Regions from separate parts of the Homo sapiens genome. Here all the other regions are linked to region 1. The links are contacts of gene promoters, found by promoter capture Hi-C in blood cells and fetal thymus (Javierre and others, 2016). All regions are on one chromosome and are shown on one strand. The core of a region is centred on a gene start or on the middle of the fragment in contact, and the rest is flanking DNA. Distances in the headings are between cores, read along the strand shown.

What was found. The method cuts DNA at HindIII sites, captures the fragments that hold promoters and counts their contacts. A CHiCAGO score of 5 or more calls a contact.
Region 2: a fragment that was not itself captured here is called in contact with the fragment with the promoter of CAMK2N2 in region 1 in 1 of 17 cell types (endothelial precursors); the score reaches 5.9 in endothelial precursors.
Region 3: a fragment that was not itself captured here is called in contact with the fragment with the promoter of CAMK2N2 in region 1 in 1 of 17 cell types (M1 macrophages); the score reaches 5.3 in M1 macrophages.
Region 4: the fragment with the promoter of HTR3E here is called in contact with the fragment with the promoter of CAMK2N2 in region 1 in 6 of 17 cell types (M1 macrophages, M0 macrophages, endothelial precursors and 3 more); the score reaches 15.6 in M1 macrophages.

The regions. Positions count from the first base shown.
Region 1 is chr3:184,260,100-184,265,937 of GRCh38, reverse strand. CAMK2N2 (calcium/calmodulin dependent protein kinase II inhibitor 2) reads left to right here and starts at 4,385. Exons shown (of 2, transcript NM_033259.3): 1 at 4,385-4,821; 2 at 5,711-5,838. The coding sequence starts at 4,653. The coding sequence ends at 5,781. The region is part of intron 2 of EEF1AKMT4-ECE2 (EEF1AKMT4-ECE2 readthrough); the gene reads right to left. RefSeq lists enhancers at 2,531-3,293, 5,179-5,730, 5,731-5,838. The HindIII fragment of the contact is 12,942 bases long and covers 831-5,838 here.
Region 2 is chr3:184,009,987-184,015,824 of GRCh38, reverse strand. It overlaps ABCC5 (ATP binding cassette subfamily C member 5), which reads left to right. Exons shown (of 30, transcript NM_005688.4): 2 at 1,378-1,561. The coding sequence starts at 1,433. It overlaps ABCC5-AS1 (ABCC5 antisense RNA 1), which reads right to left. Exons shown (of 3, transcript NR_046570.1): 2 at 5,184-5,374; 3 at 4,406-4,559. Among named protein-coding and RNA genes, the nearest start is that of ABCC5, 5.0 kb to the left of the region's middle. RefSeq lists an enhancer at 4,220-5,419. The HindIII fragment of the contact is 2,056 bases long and covers 2,202-4,257 here.
Region 3 is chr3:184,056,444-184,062,281 of GRCh38, reverse strand. HTR3C (5-hydroxytryptamine receptor 3C) reads right to left here. Exons shown (of 9, transcript NM_130770.3): 5 at 5,238-5,407; 6 at 3,695-3,855; 7 at 2,642-2,846; 8 at 2,239-2,454; 9 at 1,609-2,132. The coding sequence ends at 1,930. Among named protein-coding and RNA genes, the nearest start is that of HTR3C, 6.3 kb to the right of the region's middle. The HindIII fragment of the contact is 2,967 bases long and covers 1,223-4,189 here.
Region 4 is chr3:184,093,776-184,099,613 of GRCh38, reverse strand. HTR3E (5-hydroxytryptamine receptor 3E) reads right to left here and starts at 2,550. Exons shown (of 9, transcript NM_001256613.2): 1 at 2,018-2,550. The coding sequence starts at 2,084. It overlaps HTR3E-AS1 (HTR3E antisense RNA 1), which reads left to right. Exons shown (of 3, transcript NR_133658.1): 3 at 4,264-4,496. The HindIII fragment of the contact is 4,461 bases long and covers 1-2,823 here.

The DNA.
Region 1 (5,838 bases), core at 3,136-5,635:
GCACAATCTGGGCTATTTTTAGTAGAGATGGGGTTTCTCCATCTTGGCCAGGCTGGTCTTGAACTCCTGACCTCAGGTGATCCACCCGCCTGGGCCTCCCAAAGTGCTGGGATTACAGGCATTAGCCACCTAGCCTGACTGTACCTTATCTTAACTAATTGTATCTGCAAAAGCCCTATTTCCAAATAAGGTCACACTTTTTTTTTTTTTAGACAGGGTCTTGCTCTGCCACCCAGGCTACAGTGCAGTGCGGTACAGTCATAGCTCACTGTCAACTAGCTTCTGTGCTCAAGTTATCCTCCTACCTCAGCCTCCCAAGTAGCTGGGACTACAGGCATGCACCACCATGCCTAACTAATTTTTTTTTTTTTAGTAGAGATGGCGTCTCACTATATTGCCCAGGCTGGTTTTGAACTCCTAGGCTCAAGTCATCCTCCCGCCTTGGCCTCCCAAAGTGCTGGGATTACAGGCATGAGCCACTGCACCTGGCCCTGGGTCACACTTTGAGGTTACAGGTGAACATTGAATTGTTGTGGGAGTCCCTATTCAATCCACTACAGGGGTCTACAGTTTCCACTTGACTAAAAGTGTCACTAATACTCAATTGTCAAAAGGCATGTTATCTGTGTAGAGCACGTGGACAAGTATACTAGGTTTGAGGGACTTCCAATTGAGAGACTCAATGCACTGTCACGCAACTCTATACAAGCTTTATTTCATTTTAGTGAAAATGTATTTTCCTCTCATGGGAAGGAAGCAGAATATCAGAATTTTAAAGAGAGGAGCAGAATTTAAAGAAATCCCCACATTTTTACAACATAGCTGAAGCTTATATATCATAATAGTCCACAGGTTTGTACTTAGGACTTTTGCTTTAACCATGATCCAGCAGGCACGGCCGGGACGGGAATATAATTATTTAAGAAGGAGGTAACCAAGTGAATTCTGGATTAAACTGTCATTTTTCCAATCTCCCTCATTGTGCAGAGAGAAAGGAGAATTGTTTCAATTCCTCACACAATACTCTTATCTCATCCTTGGCAAGAACCCTCATGCCTCTTCTTTGGCATTTTAGGTGAGGGGCAGCTCACTACCTCCCGAGACAACCCACTTTACCCCAGGACAGTTTCATCTACAAAACTGTCCTTTTCTTTCTTTTTTGAGTCAGGGTCTTGCTCTGTCACCCAGGCCAGAGTGCAGTGGCACCATTATGGCTCACTGCAGCCTCAAACTCCTGTGCCCAGGTGATCCTTCTACCACAGCCTTGCAAGTAGCTGGGACCACAGGTGTGTACCACCATACCCGGCTTGCTTATTTATTTACTTATTTATTTAGAGATGGGGCCTAGTTATGTTGTCCAGCCTGGTCTCCAACTCCTGGCTTCAAGCGATCCTTCTGCTTCAGCCTTCTGAGTGGCGGAATTCATAGGTGTGAGCCATGAATGTTGCCCAGCAAAACGTTCCTTAATAAGTAGGTTTTATCATCCCCATGCTTCAGACTAGAACATGGGGCTTACAGAGGTATCATATCATGCAGACACATGGTGAAAAGACTAGAAGGATATATATATATATATATAGTTATAAGGCCGGGTGTGGTAGCTCATGCCTATAATCCCAGCACTTTGGGAGGCCAAGGCGGGCGGATCGCGAGGTCAGGAGTTCAAGACCAGCCTGGCCAACATAGTGAAACCTCATCTCTACAAAAAATACAAAGACTGGCAGGGCGCAGTGGCTCACACCTGTAATCTCAATACTTTGGGAGGCCGAGTGGGCGGATCACGAGGTCAAGAGATTGAGACCATCCTGGCCAACATGGTGAAACCCTGTCTCTACTAAAAATACAAAAATTAGCTGGGAGTGGTGGCACACACTTGTAGTCCCAGCTACCCAGGAGGCTGAGGCATGAGAATCACTTGAACACAGGAGGGGGAGGTTGCAGTGAGCTGAGATGGCGCCATTGCACTCCAGCCTGGCGACAGAGTGAGACTCCATCTCAAAAAAAAAAAAAAAAAAAAAAAAAAAAAAAAGCTGGGCATGGTGGCGTGTGCCTGTAGTCCCAGCTACTCGGGAGGCTGAGGCAGGAGAATCGCTTGAACCTGGGAGGTAGAGGTTATGGTGAGCCAAGATCGCGCCATTGCACTCCAGCCTGGGCAACGGAGCAAGACTCCGTGTCAAAAAAAAAAAAAAAAAAAAAGATGTTATGTGATTTTCTTAATTTTCCTAAAATTTTTTTCCTTCCTTCCTTCCTTTCTCTCTCTCTCTCTCTCTCTCTCTCTCTCTCTCTCTCTCTCTCTCTCTTTCTTTTATTGAGACGGAGTCTCGCCTCGCTTTGTCACCCAGGCTGGAGTGCAATGGCCCAATGTCCGCCAACTGCCACCTTTGCCACCCTAGGTCAAGCGGTTCTTGTGCCTCAGCCTCCCAAGTAGCTGGGACTGCAGGTGTGTGCCACACCTGGCTAATTTTTTTTGTATTTTTAGTAGAGACAGGGTTTTGCCATGTTGATCAGGCTGGTCTCAAACTCCTGACCTCAGGTGATCCACCCACCTCGGCCTCCCAAAGTGCTGGTATTGCAGGCGTGAGCCACTGAGCCCGGCCTCCTAAAATGTTTTAAGTACAAACGAATTAATTTTTTAAAACCATGATTATGGGTCCTTCAGTTCAAGGTCACTGAGAAAGTGGGAGTCAGGATTGGAACCCATTACTGGACAACTTCCAGTGTATGTGGAATTTTCTGGACTCTCTTCCAGTGACCCCAGTCTTCCGCCTTTATTGTCCTTCCAGTTTCAGGGCTCCTCTCACTCCAGGCTGGGCCTCCACCTCCAGCTGTGGCCCTCATCCCGGAGACTAGGACAGAGCAGAGGAGGGCTTCATAGTGATGGGCCCCCAGGCCTGGGCCCTTGAGTGAGGCTGGCATCAAGGTATCCTGTGGCATACCGCCCCCCCCATCCAGTTCCCTGGGCAGCCACCATTGCGTTTGTCCCTGTGTCTCCGGTATTAACACCTGGCGAGAAAGTGTTGGAAGGAGACCCACTACAAGGCAGCCTCACCAGCTGTGTGATTTGGTAATTTGGCCAGATTAAGGAAGGAAAGCGCGTTCGCCTGGAGTGTGGAATGAACGTACAGGGTGATCATTACCGTTTTCAGCGCTGCCGTCACTGTCGCCGCATGTGAGACACCCCCTCCTCCCCAAGGCCAGTGATTGCGCCAGAGCTCCTGCGCGCTGGCAAGCAGGTGACGCCGCGGGTGACGGCCAGCCAGGGCGGGGGTTGTGGGGGCGGGAGGCAAGGGGAGAAGAGGGCATGTTCCCATCGGTGAGGCGAGAACTCACCCGTGGTCCAAAGCAACGAGGGCGGGGGGCACCCTCCATCTCTACCGCACTCCCTCGGGGCACACACTGGCGCGCTCCGCGTCCTCAGGTGCTCCGAGCTTCCCCGCGTCACCCGCAGCCCAGGGCGCCCCCCGCGACGCCGCCATTCATTCCTCCTACACTGCGAGCGCACCACTCCAGAGCCGCGGGGGGCTACAGCCACCGGACTAGGGCTGGGGGTGTCTGCCCTGGTGCGCGCGCGTCGGCCCAGTTTCTATAGACCCCTCCTAGGAGAGACTGAAATACCCAGATTCAGGAGACGGAGACACTGGCACAGAGATACAGGAGTCAAGAATGGAGATAGATAGAGAAAGGCAGACACTTAAGGGACAGGCATAGACAAAGGCCATAACACAGCGAAAGAGATACGGGGCACAGAGACAGAGAGATACAGACACTTAGAGATGGACTGACACACACAAAGGCGGAGACAGAGACACAGACCGGCACTCAGAGGCGCACGGACCCTGACGATCTACTTAAGACCAGCAGAGCAACTAGTACAAGAGCGCGTCAGCGGCAAGGGCACCATCCCACTGGCCCGAGCTCTTCCCGCGCTGTGGGTTCGTGCCTTCCCCAGTCACCCTGTACCCGAGTCTCCTCCCCGCGCATTTCCCGCTCCCCGCTTTCCATTGCCAGCCCTGCGGCCGCCTTCCCGCCCCAACGCGCCCGGCCAGCTTTTGCCCTCCTGCTCCCAGTCCCCCTTGCACGCCTCTCCCAGCCTAGGGGTCAGACCCTCCTCCAAGCTCCTCCAGTACCAGGCTCGATCCCACCCCCCTTCGGTCCCGCCCCTCCCCGCGAGGTCCCGGCCGGGTTGGCTGGTACTATTCCCCAAGACCCACGTGCTGGCCATTCCCCGCCACAGTGCGGGAACCTCCCACTCCAGCTGCCTCTGTTCCCGGGGTAGCTGGGCGCGCTCCTGCCCCCGGCCCCGCCTCTTTCCCCTGGCCAGTGCCCGCCCCGCCTCCACCGCGCCCCGCCCGCCGTGCTCTGCCGCAGTCGGGCGCTCATCGTCATTCCGCTCTTGCCGCCGCCGCCGCCACCCCCGCCCCCCGCCCCCGCCCCCGCCCGGTCCCCGCCACCGCCGCCGCCGCCGCCTGCCCAGCGGCCCGGGAGGCGGAGGCGCGGGGGAGGAGGCCCCGCTTGGCTCCTCAGCCCCGGATGCTGCATGACTTCATCCTTCCGCCGGCTCCCCTGCTGAGGTAGGGCCGGTCCGGCAGCAAGCCCGCCGCCCGCGCCCCGCCGCAGTCCCGCTCCCGCCCCGCGCCCACCCCGCGCCCGCCATGTCCGAGATCCTGCCCTACAGCGAAGACAAGATGGGCCGCTTCGGCGCAGACCCCGAGGGCTCCGACCTCTCCTTCAGCTGCCGCCTGCAGGACACCAACTCCTTCTTCGCGGGCAACCAGGCCAAGCGACCCCCCAAGCTGGGCCAGATCGGCCGAGCCAAGCGAGGTACGCGGCCCGGGCCCGGAGTCGCCGCCTGACCCAGAAACCCTCCGCCGGGCGCCCCCCGGCTGCCGTTCCCCGCCGAGTGCCCGCAGCTCTTGCCGCAGACCAGCGCACCAGCCGCTCTCCAGCCCGGGCTGGAGGGGGGGGTCCCCGCTGCAGTGTGTGTCCCCCTCTTCCCTTCTCCCGGGAACACGGTGCCCCGGATTCGATGCTCGCCACCTCTGGAAGCAGAGCCCTGGCACCCGGGCGAGGGGGAGGGGCCGGTCGGGGCATTTGGGGCTGCACGGAAGTGGGAGCACGGGGTAACGGGCTGATTCTTTGGGATCAAATACTGAGTCGGTGGACAATACGAAGAACCTTCGGGTCGAGAGGGACGTCTAACAAGAGAGGGCAGGAGGCCGGGGGTCCGCTTGTCTTGGTTGTTTGCATGGGGAGGGGAGCTCTGTTGGTGCCAGGATCGGAAGAGGGGTTCCAGCGGCGAGAGGGCTCAGGTTGAGGAGAGGGCTGGACCAGCTGGATACTCGGTTTGAGCCCCATTTGAGCAGGGGGATCTGTTGAAGTGCGGGTTGAAGAGGGGGATTCCGTGAGCAAGAGGTTTCTGATCAACTCAGAGGGAGGAAGGCTCAGGTGGCAGGAGGGCTCGCACTGGGAGGGAGAATAGCTGGAGCCTTTGGAAGAGGGGCGTTCCGCCATCGGGAGGGGAGGGGGTCTAGGCTTGGCGGCGGGTTGGGTCTCCAGAAGAGTTCGGACGGGGAGGACACCGCGGCACAGGGTTCCGAGGGGCGTCGCTGGGCCACGGGCAGTAGCTGCGCGGGAAGCTAGGACGCGGGGCTCATTCTCATCGCCGCCGCCCCCCGAGGCCGCGCGGCTGACGCGCTTTCTCCCTGCGCAGTGGTGATCGAGGATGACCGGATAGACGACGTGCTGAAGGGGATGGGGGAGAAGCCGCCGTCCGGAGTGTAGACGCGCCGGCTCGGGCGGCGGGCTCCGGGCCCAGCCTCGCAGCGGCCAGGAGCGCGG
Region 2 (5,838 bases), core at 1,980-4,479, 250 kb after region 1:
CTGGCAGATGCCAGGTCTGTTTATAGTTTAGCCTTAATGAGGTCTCAATGACGTGATTGCTGCACTCTGGCTTGGTGAGCCGCTGTTCTTTATGGTGTAGTTTGTCATTGGACAAGGTGACTTTTTTTTTTTTTTTAAAGATAAGTAACAGCTATATCAACTTAGGGTACTTGAACCAGAATTCTGAAAGGCAAGAAATCAAGCTTTCTTTGGACTGGAAACCTGTCTTTGCATAGGAGATTTAGTCCTTTTTATTCAGAGGATTAGTAAGTGTTCTCTTTTTATCTGACACTTTAAAAATTGCATTATAATGGTTAGAATTTTGTGCTGCAGAAGTAGTAGTTTTAAGTCACAGCGATAGCCAGGGATTTATGGAATCCAGAAGGCGACACGGCTACACGTCTTTAATTTCCGTTGGAGGCTAGTATGAAAGGTGTTTTCTCAGCTTGTCTCTGGGAGGCTGTGACCCTTCTTAGAGGGGGGAAACATTTTGGAGAAGTATGTATGTGTTTTTTGTTTTTAAGTGACCTGAGTTGATACAGCATATTGATTAGACTTAGCCAGGCAAGCAGTGGTTTAGAATAGAGTTTCAGGTAAAAACTAGGTAAGACTTAGTAATACAGGGTGGAGAATTTGTTTTTGTTATTGTTTTTTACTAACAGCTTTGTTGCCATAGGATTTATATGACATGAAATTCACTCTTTTAAAGTATAAATTCAGTGTGTTTTTTTTCAATGTATTCACTGCATTGTGCAACCATTACCACTATCTAGTTTTAGAACATTTTCAGTACCCAGGGAATTTGTGTTTGAAGTTAAGTTATAACATTGTTTTAACTGGATAACTTCATGGAGCTTTAAAATAACACCAGCTAACCCATTAGTTAATTATAAAAAGGCAGAGATGGAATATATCATTGGTAGAATAAGTGTTTGGTAAGTTTTTATTTAGTAAAATTTAGTAGAAGAAATGATGTCCACTTTAAAATTGTGGAGTTTTTAATACTTGGGACAAACTGAAATTGTTTCTAGAAAGTCTTTAAAAAAAAAACCAACCTTTCTATTGTATACACTGGATTTGAGCTTAGTTGAAGAGAATGGGTGTCTCTTTACTAGTGTGTTTACTGTTTCTAATTTTTTTTCCCTTAGAGTTGGGAGAAGGTAATTTTTCTTGATTCTCTTATACTGAATCTTTTTCTTTAAAAAAATGAAATCAAAATCTTTGAACTTTTTTTGAAAATTAATTTTTGTAGCTATAACAGTAGAAAGCTTTAGTACTTTTGCCTTTTTTTTTTTTTTCCTATTTTTAAGGCACTTGAGCTTATGGTTAAGTACTGTTTAGGAAATAATCTATTTCTTGATGAATTTTTAATTTCAGGAATTCTGATGTGAAACTAACAGTCTGTGAGCCCTGGAACCTCCACTCAGAGAAGATGAAGGATATCGACATAGGAAAAGAGTATATCATCCCCAGTCCTGGGTATAGAAGTGTGAGGGAGAGAACCAGCACTTCTGGGACGCACAGAGACCGTGAAGATTCCAAGTTCAGGAGAACTCGACCGGTCAGTTTCCTTTCCTAAGAGTCTCTTACCTGCTTGTTGTACTAAAACACATCTTTTTTCGTATAATGGGTAATTTAGAAACTTATTTTTTGGCCGGGCGCGGTGGCTCACGCCTATAAACCCAGCACTTTGGGAGGCTGAGGCGGGTGGATCATCTGAGGTCAGGAGTTCGAGACCAGCCTGACCAACATGGTGAAAACCTGTCTCTACTAAAAGTACAAAAATTAGCCAGGCGTGGTGGCGGGCGCCTATAATCCCAGATACTTGCGAGGCTGAGGCACGAGAATCGCTTGAACCCAAGAGGCGGAGGTTGCAGTGAGCTGGGATCATGCCACTGCACTCCAGCCTGGGCGATAGAGCGAGACTCAGTCTCAAAAAAAAATGTGTTTTTCTTTATTGGCTTTAGGTTACTGTTAAGAATTTATGGTTATTGATAAGTCTCTGGTCCATAGTAAGCACTCAATAAGTGGAAGAGAGGCTGGCTGTCACCCTCTCACCCGGTCTGTTCTGAGCATTCTCCTCTTTTTCACTTTTATTCTATGTTGGTGCCTTCTGAAAAGGCTATACTTAACAGAAGACAACTTATTGAGGGGGAGGGGGTCATGGGGTCAATGACAGGGAATATAAAGCCAATTAAGCTTCATTCATGTACCTAAACAAAATTGGTGTTTTCTTCTACTTTCTGTCATGTGTGTTTAAAATGTGAACCTGGCCAGGCACAGTGGCTCATGCTTGTAATCCCAGCACTTTGGGAGGTTGAGGTGGGTGGGTCACTTGAGGTCAGGAGTTTGAGACCAGCCTGGCCAACACGGTGAAACCCTGTCTCTGCTAAAAATACAAAAATTAGTGAGGTGTGGTGGTGGGCACCTGTACTCCCAGCTACTCAGGAGGGAGGCAGGAGAATTGCTTGAATCCAGGAGGCAGAGGTTGCAGTGAGCCAAGATCACGCCACTGCACTCCAGCCTGGGCAACAGAGTGAGACTCCGTCTCCAAAAAAATAAAAAATAAAATAAAATGTGAATCCTTTGGAGAGACTCAGATTTCAGAACAATTCTAGATAGTTGTGGGATTATCAGTATGTTTTTCAAGCGAATTCATAAGTTAAGCAGTCTTTAGATAATAATCTAATTTCCTCCAAGGGAAATAATGAAGATGCGTTTTTACCTCGAGAAAATATTCTTTTTCCTGAGGAAAAAAAGCATTATACCTTTTCTTACAAAAGTACCTAATAAGGCAGAATGGACTAGGTTTAGGAAGTTGAGGTTTTTGTTGGTGTATTTGTTATGTGAAAATTTGAGAAAGATAATGGACTTTGCAGCTGACACTGGCCTTTCCTTAGCCTGATACTACCTTTCCCTCTTTGGTTGTGTTAAAGCCATTGCTTTATTAATGAACATTTTCTTGCTAATGAGTCTTTTCTGTACCCTACTGTGTATTATAGAATGCTTTTCCATTCAGGTTTAACTTCAGAGAAACAGGCTTAATGTAATCAGTGTCAAATGCTTCTCGTGGTGCCAGTTTTATAACTTCCTCATGTCCTTTTGTCTAGACCTTATGTTGATTAAACATCTATCCATTACATCTGAGTGCTAGACACATTTAGTGTAACAGTTAAGTCTGGAAAAAGTCAGAAGGTAACATTGGGGCAGGGCCTTAAAGGGTGATTAGGTGGGGAGGCTTTTTAGGCGGTACAAGTACAGACCCAAAGGTATGGAAAGAGCGTGTGACATATTGGGACTTTGGATAAGCTACTTACGTCATTTGTATATAAAATGGGGTTGACAGTAGTACCTGACTCATGGGATCACTGAGGAGTAAATGAGATAATACATATAAAATATTTAAAATGGTACCTGGCACATGGCCAGTGCTCAATAAATGTTAGCTCTTAGAACTAGTTGTTCAGGGCATAGGATGTGTAAAGAGATTATAGGTCGGGTGAAATTCTGCATGCCATGCTAAGAAATATTTCACTGTGGGCATTAGGGAACTATTGGAAGTTAATGAGATTAAAAAAAAAAACCTTTTTATTTTGAGCTAACTGTAGATTTACATGCAATTATAAAAAATAATATAGAGATCCTATATATTCTTCATCCAGTTTCCCCCAGTGGTAACATCTTGCATAACTATAGTCCAGTATCACAACAGGATAATGATTGACATTGATACAATCCATTGACTTTAGGATTTCACCAGTTTTATATGCACTCATTTGTGTGTGTGTGTGTGTGTGTGTGTGTGTGTGTTGTGTTCTATGCATTTTTTAAAGGTGTAAATTTGTGTGACCGCTTCCACAGTCAGGATGCAAAGGTTCCATCACAAGGATCTCTCGTTACCCTTTTATAGCCACAGTCATGTCCCCTCAACCCCAGTCTCTGGCAACTGCTAATCTTTTCTCCATTTCTGTAATTTTGTCATTTTAAGAATGCTATATACATTGAATCATATAGTATATAACCTTTCGAGATTGCTTTTTTCACTCAGCTGAACTCCCTTGATAGCCATCTAATTTTGTTGTGTGCATCAATAGTTCTTTCCTTTGTATTGCTGAGTAGCATTCCGTGTTATAGATGTACCATAGCTTCTTTAACCATTCATTTGTTAAAGGACATATGGGTCATTTCCAGTTAATGGCAATTATACATAAAGGTGCTCTGAACCTTCAGTTACAGGATTTTGTGTGAACATAAGCTTTTATTTCTCTGGATTAATGCCCAGGACTGCGCTTGCTGGGTCATATGGTAAGTGCATATTTAGTTTGTAAGAAACTGCAGTACTCTTTCCCAGAGTGTCTGTGCCATTTTACATTCCCACCAGCAATGATCCAGTTTTTCCACATTGTTGCCAGTACTCAATGTTATAATGTTTATTTTAGCCATTCCTATAGATGTGCCTGGTATCTGATTGTGGTTTTAATTTGCAGTTCCCTAATGGCTACGATGTTTGAGAGTAGATTTTTATCTTAGATTAGTCTTGAAGCAATGCAGAAAAAAACCTGTACAGGAGAAAGAGACCAAATATAAAGAGCATTCAGGAAGCGGCTCTGCCTATCCATGTCAGAGAGGCCAGGGTTCTGTTGTAAAGCACAGAAGTGAGGATGGAGGAAAGGCGTTTCTAGAAGATAGGGAGGCATTGGGGTGTCTGGGATTGATGGTAAGGATTTAAACCTATTCGTGGACATAAGAAAAGGAGATTGGGGAGATATTAAGAATGAGTTTGGGCCGGGCACGGTGGCTCACGCCCGTAATCCTAGCACTTTGGGAGGCCGAGGCTGGTGGATTGCCTGAGCTCAGGAGTTTGAGACCAGCCTGGGCAACACAGTGAAACCCCATCTACTTGGGAGGTTGAGGCAGGAGAATCGCTTGAACCTGAGAGGCGGAAGTTGCAGTGAACCAAGATCGCGCCATTGCACTCCAGCCTGGGCAACAGAGTGAGACTCCATCTCCAAAAAAAAAAAAAAAAGAAGAAGAATGATTTTGATTTTGAAGATGTTGAATTTGAAGTGCATATGGGTAAAATTATCAGTAGGTAGAGCATAGACAAGAAGTAGTGTAGGAAAAAACATTTAGAGCCTTTAGTGTGTCCACATAGGTGAAGCTGTGAGAGTGAGCAGGCTTACCCAAGGATGGCTTGCAGAGCAGGAGAAGGTGGAGGCTGTGGAGCTGGTGTGTGGTCCTGTGAAATTTCTGGGGATAGGGTCCCCAGCTTGTGAGAGTAGAGTTGACATCAGGGTTTGCAGTGGCAGCAGCGAGCTTTTCCTCTACGAAGTGGAGAAGAACAGCAGGTAGGCACCGCTGGGCTTTGAGTACCCTAAAGGATATGGAGTCAGCCACCACTGTAGCAGGTTTTCAACATGCCACTGAAGCCTTATCTCAGAGAAATATGAAGGCTAATACCACTTTTATAAAATTTCAGGAATCCACATGAATTTTATGAATTTTATTTTTATTATTCTTTCATGTTTCCTAAACTTTTTTTTTTTTTTTTTTTTTTTGAGACGAAGTCTCCTTCTGTCACCCAGGCTGGAGTGCAGTGGTGCAATCTCAGCTCACTGCAACCTCCACCTCCCGGGCTCAAGCAATTCTCCTGCCTCAGCCTCCTAAACAGCAGGTGCCTACCTGCTGTTCTCTGTTACCACATTGGCCAGGCTGGTCTTGAACTCCTGAGCTCAAGTGATCCGCCTGCCTTGGCCTCCCAAAGTACTGGGATTACAGGCGTCAGCCACCACATCTGGCCATGAACTTTTATTTTTTATTAAATTTTTTTTGTTTGTT
Region 3 (5,838 bases), core at 1,457-3,956, 200 kb after region 1:
TCCACGATGTGCCAGATGTGGTACCATGTGCTAAACTATAAAAATGGATGAGACGTTGACCCTGATCTTTATGAAAGCATACTCTTAGGGGAGGCAGAAGGGCCAACAAATAAATCCCTGAAATGTGTTTATCCAATTGAAATATCATCCAGAAATTTGTCGCTGGTGTTTTTTGACTTTCTCTTTCAATTTCTGTTTCTCCTCAGGGTCTTTCTTGCAGCTAGCTATTAGAATTCTCCCATGATTATAGCTGTTGATGAAGGTGTGAACTACTATATTATTATTATTATTTTTGAGACAGAGTCTTGCTCTATCACCCAGGCTGGAGTGCAGTGGCACAATCTCGGCTCACTGCAACTTCTGCCTCCCAGGTTCAATCAATTCTTCTGCCTCGGCCTCCCGAGTAGCTGGGACTACGGGTGCACACCACCATGCCCAGCTAGCTTTTGTATTTTTAGTAGAGATGGGGTTTCACCATATTGGCCAGGCTGGTCTCGAACTCCTGACCTTGCAATCCATCCACCTTGGGCTCCCAAAGTGCTAAGATTACAGGTGTGAGCTACCGAGCCCTGCTGTGAACTACTATTAACAGGGAACTTAAAAAACCTTTCTTCGTTTCATTTTATTTTTAAGAGACTGGTTCTTGCTCTGTTGCCCAAGCTGGATTGCAAGGGTGCGATCGTGGCTCCCTGTAACTTTGAACTGGGTTCAAGCGATCCTCCTACCTTAGTCCCTCGAGTAGCTAGGACTACAGGCATGTACCACTGCACCTGGCTAATTTTTAATTAATTAATTAGTTAATTATTATTTTTGTAGAGACAAGGTCTCGCTTTGTTGCCCAGGCTGGTCTCAAACTCCTAGCCTCTCTCCTCGGCCTCCCAAAGTGCTGGGATTACAGGCATGAACCCCCCAGCCTCAAGCACACATATTTAGAAAGCCCGCTCTGTTTGATGTTGTGAAGTAAGAGAAACCTGTTAGAATAAAAAAGAATGACACAAGATATGATTTATTTCAAAGAGCAATTTCAGGAATGAGAGGTAAAGGAAAGTGAAAAAGAAATGGTTGCTGAAAGGAACATTTTGCATTTGTAAATATTTTATTGCAAATGAAATAATTTCTTGCAAATAAGACTTGGCCTTCTTATTCTTATAAAACTCTGAAAGTATCTAAAACCCTTAAAATCACATCAGATTACACCTGCTTAGGGGGAAGTATCAAAGCTTCTGCAAGAGGACTCTCCACCGCAGAGTTTGTAGACTTATAATAAATATAATGAAGAGGGCTGGGCGAGGTGGCTCACGCTTGTAATCCCAACACTTTGGGAGGCCGAGGTGGGCGGAACACTTAAGGTCAGGAGTTCCAGACCAGCCTGGCCAACATGGCAAAACCCTGTCTCTACTAAAAATACAAAAATTACCTGGGTGTGGTGGTGTGCACCTGTAATCCCAGCTACTTGGGAAGCTGAGGCATGAGAATCATGCCTGGGAGGCGGAGGTTGCAGTGAGCTGAGATGGCATCATTTGCACTCTAGTGTGGGTGACAGAGTGAGACTCTGTCTCAATAAACAAACAAACAAACAAACAAACAAACAAACTGAAGAGCCAGTGCTTCCTGGAAAGTTGTTTATTGGGGTGATCAATCAAGGAGAGACTCCACTGACCTGGACTTCCATTGATCAGGGAGTGAGGAGTTAGGTGGTAGCTCAGGGAGACTGAGGGTGAGCAGGAATGAGCAGCCTGAGCAGCGGTCGGGAAATCGTCCAGGGCTGTCCCGAACCTGCTTGCTAGTGCTGCGTTGGAGTCTTTGGAATTTAGAAGGGGACATGGTAGTCACTGGGGATAAGTGGCTAAGATTAGGAAAATGAGTCCGGCTGGCCCAAGACCAGCAGAAACTCCAAGCTGTTGTTTGCCAGAGAGGGGGGATGTCTGCCTAGGTGTTCCAGAGGACAATGACAGTAAGGATGGAGGAGGCCATGAAGAGCAGGTAGAGGCGGAAGAGCAGGGTGTCCATCGCGTGGCTGAACTGCACCCACAGCTCCATTAGCTGGGTCTTTGTCCATCCTGAGCCCCCATCTGGCTCGGTCTCTCTGGGTCCCAGCTTCTTCCCTGCTAACTCCCCCGGCTCCTTTGGGCCTGTGGAGAGGACAGAGGCTCAGTCATGGAGTGGGAAGGGGACAGGATTAGAGGAGTGCTGGGCCCAGTGTGAAGGGCGAGTATGGACAGTGCTGGCTTCCCTCACCAGGCAGGTGGGTGAGGGTGAGACCCAGGCCCTTATTTCCCTTCTGGGGCGCAGTGGGACAGCATCTCCCTGGGCTGGTGCAGTGGAGCAGCAGGGAGTGAAGCCACCTAGGCATGGGTGGGGGCTGGGTGGTGGCCACGTGCAGCAGGTAGGTAATGAAGACGGTCTCCAGCAGGCTGACCACCATCAGGGACAGGCACAGGGCGAAGTAGACACCTGAGGGCAGAGCAAATTATAAATAAACCAGGCAAATTTATCTCTAAGCATTCCTCACGCCTCTTTCCTAAATCCAATCTTCTTTCACAGCCCCTTCCTTCCTTCAGTGGAGCAGCGGCCATTTCTCCTGGCCCTCCTCCCTGGCCCCGGGTGCCCTTTCTCCTCCTGAAAGTGGGAGGAGCCATACTGATGAGGGGGGTGCCACTGGCAGGGAGCAAGTCATTCATCATGAGCAGGAAGACGTTGTAGCCCAGCAGAAGTGTTATCTTGAATGGGGCACGATTCTCGCTCTCTGCTGGCAGGTAGAAGCTGAGGGCATCAATGGCAACCAGAAAGCTACTGGGCACCAGCAGGTTTATGATGTAGAGGCTTGGCCTGCGCCTGATGGCCACCTGGAGAGAGACCGGAGAAGATGGCAAATAAATAGATGTCAGAGGGCTCAATTTGTATATCTGACCCCTAATCTTTGCCAATGTGCTGTGAGGCTGCTGGGGACGATCTTTTTAAGTAACACTTTTGCATATAATTGTGCTCGCCTACATAGGGGCCTCTGATTTGTTGTCTAATTTTTATTCATTTTTAACCTACTAGGAACACAATGACTGTAGAATTTTAGGTGCAAGTGGGCCCTTTAAGTCATTCTGAGCAGTAGGGGTGAGCTGATCCATTCTGAGCAGCAGGGCTTATTACAGTCCAGCCATTCCTGCCCTCTCCAGAGCAGGAGTGGGTGAATGAGGAGTGGGCAAATGGGGAGTGGGGGAGGCCTTGGGGATCCTGCTTCAGGGCAATTAGGTAGATGGGGCAGTGGGGAGCAGGTGCCCAACCCTCTGGAGCTTTATTTTTATTTTATTTTATTTTTTGAGACGGAGTCTTATTCTGTCTTGCCCAGGCTGCAGTGCAGTGGCATTATCTCAGCTCACTGCAGCCTCCGCCTCCTGGGTTCAAGTGATTCTCCTGTCTCAACCTCCCGAGTAGCTGGGACTACAGGCATGTGCCACCACACCCAGCTAATTTTTGTGTTTTTTAAATTAGAGACGGGGTTTCACCATGTTGGCCAGGCTGGTCCTGAACTCCTGACCTCATGATCCGCCTCCCTCGGCCTCCCAAAGTACTGGGATTACAGGTGTGAGCCACTGCACCCGGCCTGGAGCTTCTTTTTTGCTTCCCAAAGAGCCATAGGTCAAGAGGACAATCAAAGAGCTGCTGGGATCAGAAGTCAAACAGGGGCCCCTGGACTCACATAAAACATGATCTGGTCATATAGGTTGTTGCCCATGGACATCTTTGGGGTGGCCTTGTTGATGCCCAAGAGCTCCCACTCCCCCTGGGTTTGGATGACTTTGCGAGACGTGTCTGTGATCTCCCACACCTCCTTGTCCATGCCCAGCAGCATGCTGTCCACTGGAAGGGAGGCCGGTCAGTTCATTGCAGACGTTTTCCCAAGCCTCCCGCCCACGAAATTGGAGTCCTCCCCCACTGAGCTTCTAAACCAAATTTTCCTCTATCCTTTTAAAGCAAGGTATCCTGGTTTTCTCAGAAGTGGGTTACCCGACTAGCAATTCATATGTGTGTGGGCAGCGGCATTAATTTCTTTTGTTGTTGAAAACAAGAGTGAGTCAAGTTCGTTATGGGAATATTGGATATGACTGAAACGTGAGTCAAGAACTTTTGGAGTCATTCCTATTTTCCTTCTCAGTCCCCCAGTCGTATGGTGGTGTTTTAGTGGAATCAAGCTTGAATAGCTCAATATTTTAATAATTATAGGCATGCCCATTTTGATGGTTTTAGTTTATCCAAATCTGCCACATGACACCTGGTGGCATTCGGTTATATTAATTTACCGGTTTTTAAGTGTGTTAGCTATTAGAGTTAAAAGATTTGAGCTAAAAATTATAGGTGTGCAGCAGCTCAGAGTCAGCTGGGCCTCATTTGGCACAAGGGCCACTCAGCTTGTAAAGCAGCAGGTCGTAACCCCGTCTGCACGTTAGCATCACCTGGGCCCCACCTGGAACAATTTAATCGGCATCTGGGGTGATGTGCGCTTATTAGGCTTTTGTTTTTGTTTTTTGTTTTGTTTTGTTTTGTTTTGTTTTGAGACGGAGTCTCGCTCTGTCGCCCAGGCTGGAGTGCAGTGGTGCAGTCTCGGCTCACTGCAACCTCCACCTCCCGAGTTTCACGCCATTCTCCTGCCTCAGCTTCCCAAGTAGCTGGGACTACAGGCGCCCACCACCAGGCCAGGCTAATTTTTTGTATATTTAGTAGATATGAGGTTTCACTGTGTTAGCCAGGATGGTCTCGATCTCCTGACCTCGTGTTCTGCCCACCTCGGCCTCCCGAAGTGCTGGGATTACAGGCGTGAGCCACTGCGCCCTGCCTGTTTTTTGTTTTAAAAACAGAGTCTCACTGTGTCACCCAGGCTGGAATGCAGTGTGCAATCACAGCTCACTGCAGCCTCAGCCTCTCTGGCTCAAACAATCCTCCTGCCTCAGCCTCCCAAGTAGCTGGGGCTAATTCTTTTTATATTTTGTAGAGATGGGGGTCTCACTATGTTGCCCAAGCTGGTCTCAAACTCCTGGGCACAAGCGTTTGTCCCACCTTTGCCTCCCAAAGTGCTGAGATTACAGTGTGAACCACTGTGCCTGGCCAGTTATTGGTATTTTCAAAAAGCTTTGTTAGGCCACCGGAGTGGAGCAACACTGATCCAAAACCTTTTCTAATGATACCTACACCACTCAAATGTCTTCCCTGAATCTTAAACAGCTACCAAAATGTGTCACACTTACCTGTGTAGAGGAAAGAACTGAAGGTGAAGGTACAGTTCTGTTGGTCAAAAGGGAAGTAGAAGATGTCCAGGTTACAGATGCTGGTCACCCTCATTGGCTTATCATACTTAATTCGACCTTCACTGCTGATATAGGCAGTGAGACCGGAAGGCGTCTGATCCACATCCATGCTGTTTGGGGAAGGGAGGGAAGAGATGGAGGCTTAATCAGCTCTTGTCTCCCTTCCTTCTGGGGTCTCCCCTGCTGTGCTCTCCTTCTGGGCTCTTTCTCTTTCTATTTTTATTTTTTTGTTGTTTTTGAGACAGTTTCACTCTTGTAGCCCAGGCTGGAGTTCAGTGGTGCAATCTCAGCTCACTGCAACCTCCGCCTCCCAGGTTCAAGCAATTCTCCTGCCTCAGCCTCCCAAGTAGCTGGGATTTACAGGGATGTGCCACCACACCTGGCTAATTTTGTATTTTTAGTAGAGATGGGGGTTTCACCATGTTGGCCAGGCTGGTCTCGAACTTCTGACCTCAGGTGATCCACCTGCCTCGGCCTCCCAAAGTGCTGGGATTACAGGCGTGAGCCACCGCGCCTGGCCCTGGGCTCTTTCTTTAATGTC
Region 4 (5,838 bases), core at 1,301-3,800, 160 kb after region 1:
GCCTCCCGAGTAGCTGGGACTACAGGCGCCCGCCACCGCGCCCGGCTAATTTTTTGTATTTTTAGTAGAGACGGGGTTTCACCTTGTTAGCCAGGATGGTCTCAATCTCCTGACTTCATGATCCACCCGCCTCGGCCTCCCAAAGTGCTGGGATTACAGGCGTGAGCCACCGTGCCCGGCCTAATTGTGCATATTTCTTAGTTTGGGGTTTTTGGGGGTTTTTTGAGACAGCGACTCACTCTACTGCCCAGGCTGGAGTGCAGTGGCGCAATCACTTGGCCTCAGCCTCTGGGCTTAGGGGATCTTCCCACCTCAGCCTCCCAAGTAACTGTGACTACAGGCGTTCCCCACCACACTTGGCTAATTTTTTTAAAAAATTTTTGTAGAGACGGGGATCTCACTATATTGCCCAGGCTGGTCTCAAACCCCGGGGCTCAAGTGATTCTCCCACCTGGGCCTCCCAAAGTTCTGGAATTATAGGTGTGAGCCACCATTCCTAGCCACATAGCTATTTTTAGAAGTGTGGGTGGGATTTTTTTTTAATTTCTTTTTTAAATTTTTAAATTTTTTTTAGAGGGAGTCTCACTCTGTCACCCAGGCTGGAGTGCAGTGGTGCGATCTTGACTCACTGCAATCTCTGGCTCCCAGGTTCAACCGATTCTTCTGCCTCAGCCTCCCAAGTAACTGGGATTACAGGCACTACCACCACATCAGGCTAGTTTTTGTATTTTTAGTAGAGATGGGGTTTCACCATGTTAGCCAGGCTGGTCTTGAACTCTTGACCTCAGGTGATCCGCCTGCCTCAGCGTCCCAAGTGCTGGGATTACAGGTGTGAGCCACCTCACCTGACCCGTCCCACCCTCTTCTAACTAATAAATTTTTAAATTTTCTAGTCATGAAAATGTGTTGGAGGAGCAACAACTTGGACTGAGAGAGATGGTTGATAACCTCTGTGCCAAGGACATTGAGCCTTATCCATTCCCAACGTCACAGTGCTTTCCAGCAAATTCTTAAACCACTCTAAGAACAGTGAATATTCATTTGTCAACCCCTGTGTGCAAGTGCCCAGAGGAGCTTTCATAACCATTTACACTGCCTAGACCAGGTGTACAATTTGTGTCTCTTCCCTGTGCTGGCCTTTAAAGTCACCTCTGGTTCAGTCCTCTCCTGTGCCTCCTTATCCAAAGTCATGGAATAATCTAACGAGGAGAGATGACAGTTATTGGCACTTTTACCAAGTGCCAGACACTGTGCTTCCCTCCTTCTCTTACTGAATCCTCACAACCCTGCAAGGTAGGTTCTGTTTTACAGATGAGGAAACCAGAGCTCAGATAAGTTAAGCAGTGCATCCAAGTTTATAAAACTAGCAACGTGAGACACCAAGATTCAAACCCAGGTCCACCTGTCTCCAAATCCCATGTTCTTGTCTCTCTACCATGCTGACCCCCTGGAAGAGAAGCACATTCTACTTTCACCCTTGACCTGCTGCCTTCTGGCACCTTACCTAACCTAGAGCCCTTGGATCCAGCAGATGGACAGGGAAATTATGGCTAAAGGAGGTGGGCACTTTGCTACAATGGTTTGGGTTTCATACCTGTAGAGAGAAAGAATTACACCTGTGGATAGAAAGATGGATGGATATAGAAGCTAAATACAAGAGAAGACGATCGTGGATGGTTGTCTTCCATGTAGGGTACCAATGGAGAAAAGACAGACTTTTCAAGTAGTATTGGGAAAACTGGATATCCATATGTGAAAGGATAAAGTTTGCTGGTGTTGAACTCTATTTTTCGAGAAGGAAAATGAAAGTGCTCTTGTTTGGCATGTAACTGGAAGGGGATTTTCCGTCTTTCAGAAAAGGAAAGTCTATGTGGGCATCTTAGTAATGTAGCTATGAAAGAACTCTATCCATCTTAGACAATCTCTAGGAGTTGGAAATTTGAAAAAAGTTCCTAGATGTTCTACTAGAGAGAGGTCCTCCTTCTTCCGCCTTCCCCCATCATTGCTCCTTTCTTACCTTGAAGCAGAAAACCGAGAAGGAGGTAGAAGGAAAATCTTTTCCTGTGGAACCAGCTTCCTTCCATCTTCTTTGTCTAAGTTCTTCTCTGAACATGTACTGGGACCCAGGAATGCCCAGATTAAAGCAGCACAGGCCACACCTAGAGTCTGACTTTGAATACTAATAGCATTGGTTGACCACTGACATTTGTAACCTTCCTTCAAAGAGTGTTCTGGTTGTCTTGTTCTTGCCTATGCTTAAGGTTCAGTCTGCTTTTAAGACTTTATCTTAGTCTTAGGTATTTCACTGCAACGTAAATGGTTATAGATAGTTCATACGTGATCAACTTGCAGATCTTGGTGAGATCCCTTGGTCTGAAGACTCATCTCTTCAATTTTGGAAAATTCTCAGACATTTATAAATGTTTCACTTCCTCTATTTTTCTTATTAGACATGTGTTGAATGGTTTCCTTCTATCTTACATGCCTTTTATTGCTGTTGTAACAAATCACAAACCCAGTGGCTTAAATAAACACAATTTGTTATTTTACTGTTCTGTGGGCCAGAAGTTTGAAATGGGTCTCACTGGGCTAAAATGAATGTGTCAGCAGGACCGCATTCCCTCTGGAGGCTCTAGAGGAGAATCCATTTCCTTGCCTTTTCCAGATTTTTTTTTTTTTGAGACAGGGTTTCACTCTGTTGACCAGGCTGGAGTGCAGTGGCGCAATCGCGACTCACTGCAGCCTTGACCTCCTGGGCTCAAGGGATCTTTCCGTCTCAGCCTCCCAAGTAGCTGGGACCTCACAGGTGTGAGCCACCAAGCTTGGCTATTTTTTTTTTTTTTAGTAGAAATGAGGTCTCGCTTTGTTGCCTAGGCTTGTCTCCAACTCCTGGCCTCAAGTGATCCTCCAACCTTGATCTCCCAAAGTGCTGGGATTATAGACATGAGCCATTGTACCCGGCCTTTTCCAGCTTTTAAACTGCCTGTATTTCTTGGTTCATTATTTTTACTTCTCCATCTTCAAAACCAGCAACATCAGGCCAATGTTTCTCACAAGGCATCTCATCTCTCTGGTTCTTATTTGTTTCTCTCTCCTTCTTCCACTTATAAGAGCCTTTGTGATTGCATTGTGTCCATTTGGATAATCCAGGATAGTCTCCCCATCTCAAAGTCCGATAATTAACAACCTTAATTCCATCTGCAACCTTAACTCCCCTTTTCCATATAACCTAAGGTTCCAGAGATTAGGATGTGGACAAATTCTGGGGGCCGTTATTCTGCCTAGCACACCTCTCTTTCCTATTTTCTACCTCTTTATCTCTGTCCCTAATGATTTCTTCAGATCTAGCTTCCAGGAAAAAAATTCTCTCCTCAACTGTGTTTATTTTAATTAATTAATTAATTAATTTTTGATGAAACTCAGTAATTTTTATTGCAACTGGAAGACAATACATTGCAGAAACTTTATGGTAGGTCTGGGGAAAAGTGTTATTTACAATAGATTATGACATAATTTGTCTTTGACAATATGATTACATACGAAGAATGCAAAATGCAAGTATGGATGCCTTCCATATTTTATTTTATTTTGAGATGGAGTCTCATTCTGTTGCCCAGGCTAGAGTGCAGTGGCGTGATCTTGGCTCACTACAGCCTCCACCTCCTTGATTTGAGCGATTCTCCTGTCTCAGCCTCCTGAGTAGTTGGGACTACAGGCTTGTGCCACCACACCCAGCTAATTTTTGTATTTTTATTAGAGACAGGGTTTCACCATGTTGTCCAGGCTGGTCTTGAACTCCTCACCTCAGCTGATCTGCCCACCTCGGCCTTCCAAAGTGCTGGGATTACAGGAGTGAGCCACTGTGCTTGACCCTCAACTGTGTCTAATCTGTCCATCTAATCTGCCCACTGAGTTTTGGTTTTGTTTTTTTGTTTTTTTGTTTTTTAGAGAGAGGGTTTCACTGTCTCCCACCATGCCTGGCCCTCAACTGTGAGCCACCATGCTGGGATTACAGACGTGAGCCACCGTGCCCGGCCCTCAGCTGTGTCTAATCTGTCCACTGAGTTTTGCTTTTTGTTTTGTTTTGTTTTTTTTAGAGACAGGGTCTCACTGTCTCCCAGGCTGGAGTACAGTGGTATGATCATAGCTCACTGTAGCCTTGAACTCCAGGGCTCAAGCAATCCTGCCACCTCAGCCTCCCAAGTAGCTGGGACTACAGGTGCATGCCACCATGTGTGGCTAATTTTTTTTTATTGTTTCTAGAGACAGGGCCTTGCTATGCTGCCCAGGCTGGTGTTGAACTCCTGGCCTCAAGCAATCCTCCTGCCTCAGCCTCCCAAATCACTGGAATTTACAGGTATGAACCACTATGGCTAACCTTTTACCCATTTTTAAATCAAGTTGTTTTTTGTTGTTGAGTTTCAGGAATTCTATGTATAGTTTGGATATTAATCCCTTATCAGCTATATAATTTGCAAATGTTTTCTCCCATTTTGTGGGTTGTCTTCTTTCCTCTGTTAATAGTGTCTTTTGATTCATAGATGTTTAATATTTTCATGAAGTACTATTTGTCTATTTTTTCTTTTGTTGCCTATGCCTTTGTGTCATATCCAAGAAATCACTGCTAACTCCAATGTTTTGAAGCTTTTTCCCTATGTGTTCTTTTAGGAGTTTTATTGTTTTAGGTCTACACTTAAATCTTCTTTTTTTTTTTTGAGACGGAGTTTCACTCTTGTTGCTCAGGCTGAGTGCAATGGCATGATCTCAGCTCACTGCAACCTCCACCTCCTGGGTTCAAGTGATTCTCCTGCCTTAGCCTCTCAAGTAGCTGGGATTACAGGCATGTGCCACTACCCCCAGCTAATTCTGTATTTTTAGTAGAGACGGGGTTTCTCCATGTTGGTCAGGCTGGACTCGAACTCCCCACCTCAGGTGATCTGCCCGCCTCAGCCTCCCAAAGTGCTGGGATTACAGGAGTGAGCCACCGCGTCCAGCCCTACATGTAAAATATTTTATCCATTTTGAGTTAATTTTGGTATATGGTTTTAGGTAAGGGTCAAACTTCATTTCTTTGCATATGGATATCCAGTTTTCCCAATACTACTACTTGAAAAGTCTGTCTTTTCCCCATTGGAACTCTTGCAAAAATAATTTGGCCATTTGTGTGACGGTTTATTTCTGGGTTCTCTATTCTATTCCATTGCTATACATGTCTGTCTCTTTTTTTTTTTTTTTTTTTGAGACGTAGTTTCACTCTTGTTGCCCAGGCTGGAGAGAAATGGCACGATCTCCACTCACCACAAGCTCCGCCTCCCAGGTTCAAGCAATTCTCCTGCCTCAGCCTCCCGAGTAGCTGGGATTACAGGCATGCTCCACCATGCCTGGATAATTTTTTGTATTTTTAGTAGAGATGGGGTTTCTCCATGTTGGTCAGGCTGGCCTTGAACTCCCAACCTCAGGTGATCCGTCTGCCTCAGCCTCCTGTGTAGCGGTGATTACAGGTGTGAGCCACTGTGCCCAGCCTTTTTTTTTTTATTATTTGAGACAGAGTCTCACTCTGTCGCCCAGGCTGGAGTGCAATGGCACAATCTTGGCTCACTGCAACCCGCACCTCCTGGATTCAAGTGATTCTCCTGCCTCAGCCTCCCAACTAGCTGGGATTACAGGTGCATGCCACCACGACCAGCTAATTTTTGTATTTTTAGTAGAGACGAGGTTTCACCATGTTGGTCAGTCTGGTCTCAAACTACTGACCTCAGGTGATCTTCCCGCCTCAGCCTCCCAAAGCGCTGTGATTACAGGTGTGAGCCACCGTGCCCAGCCTGTAGTATGTTTTGA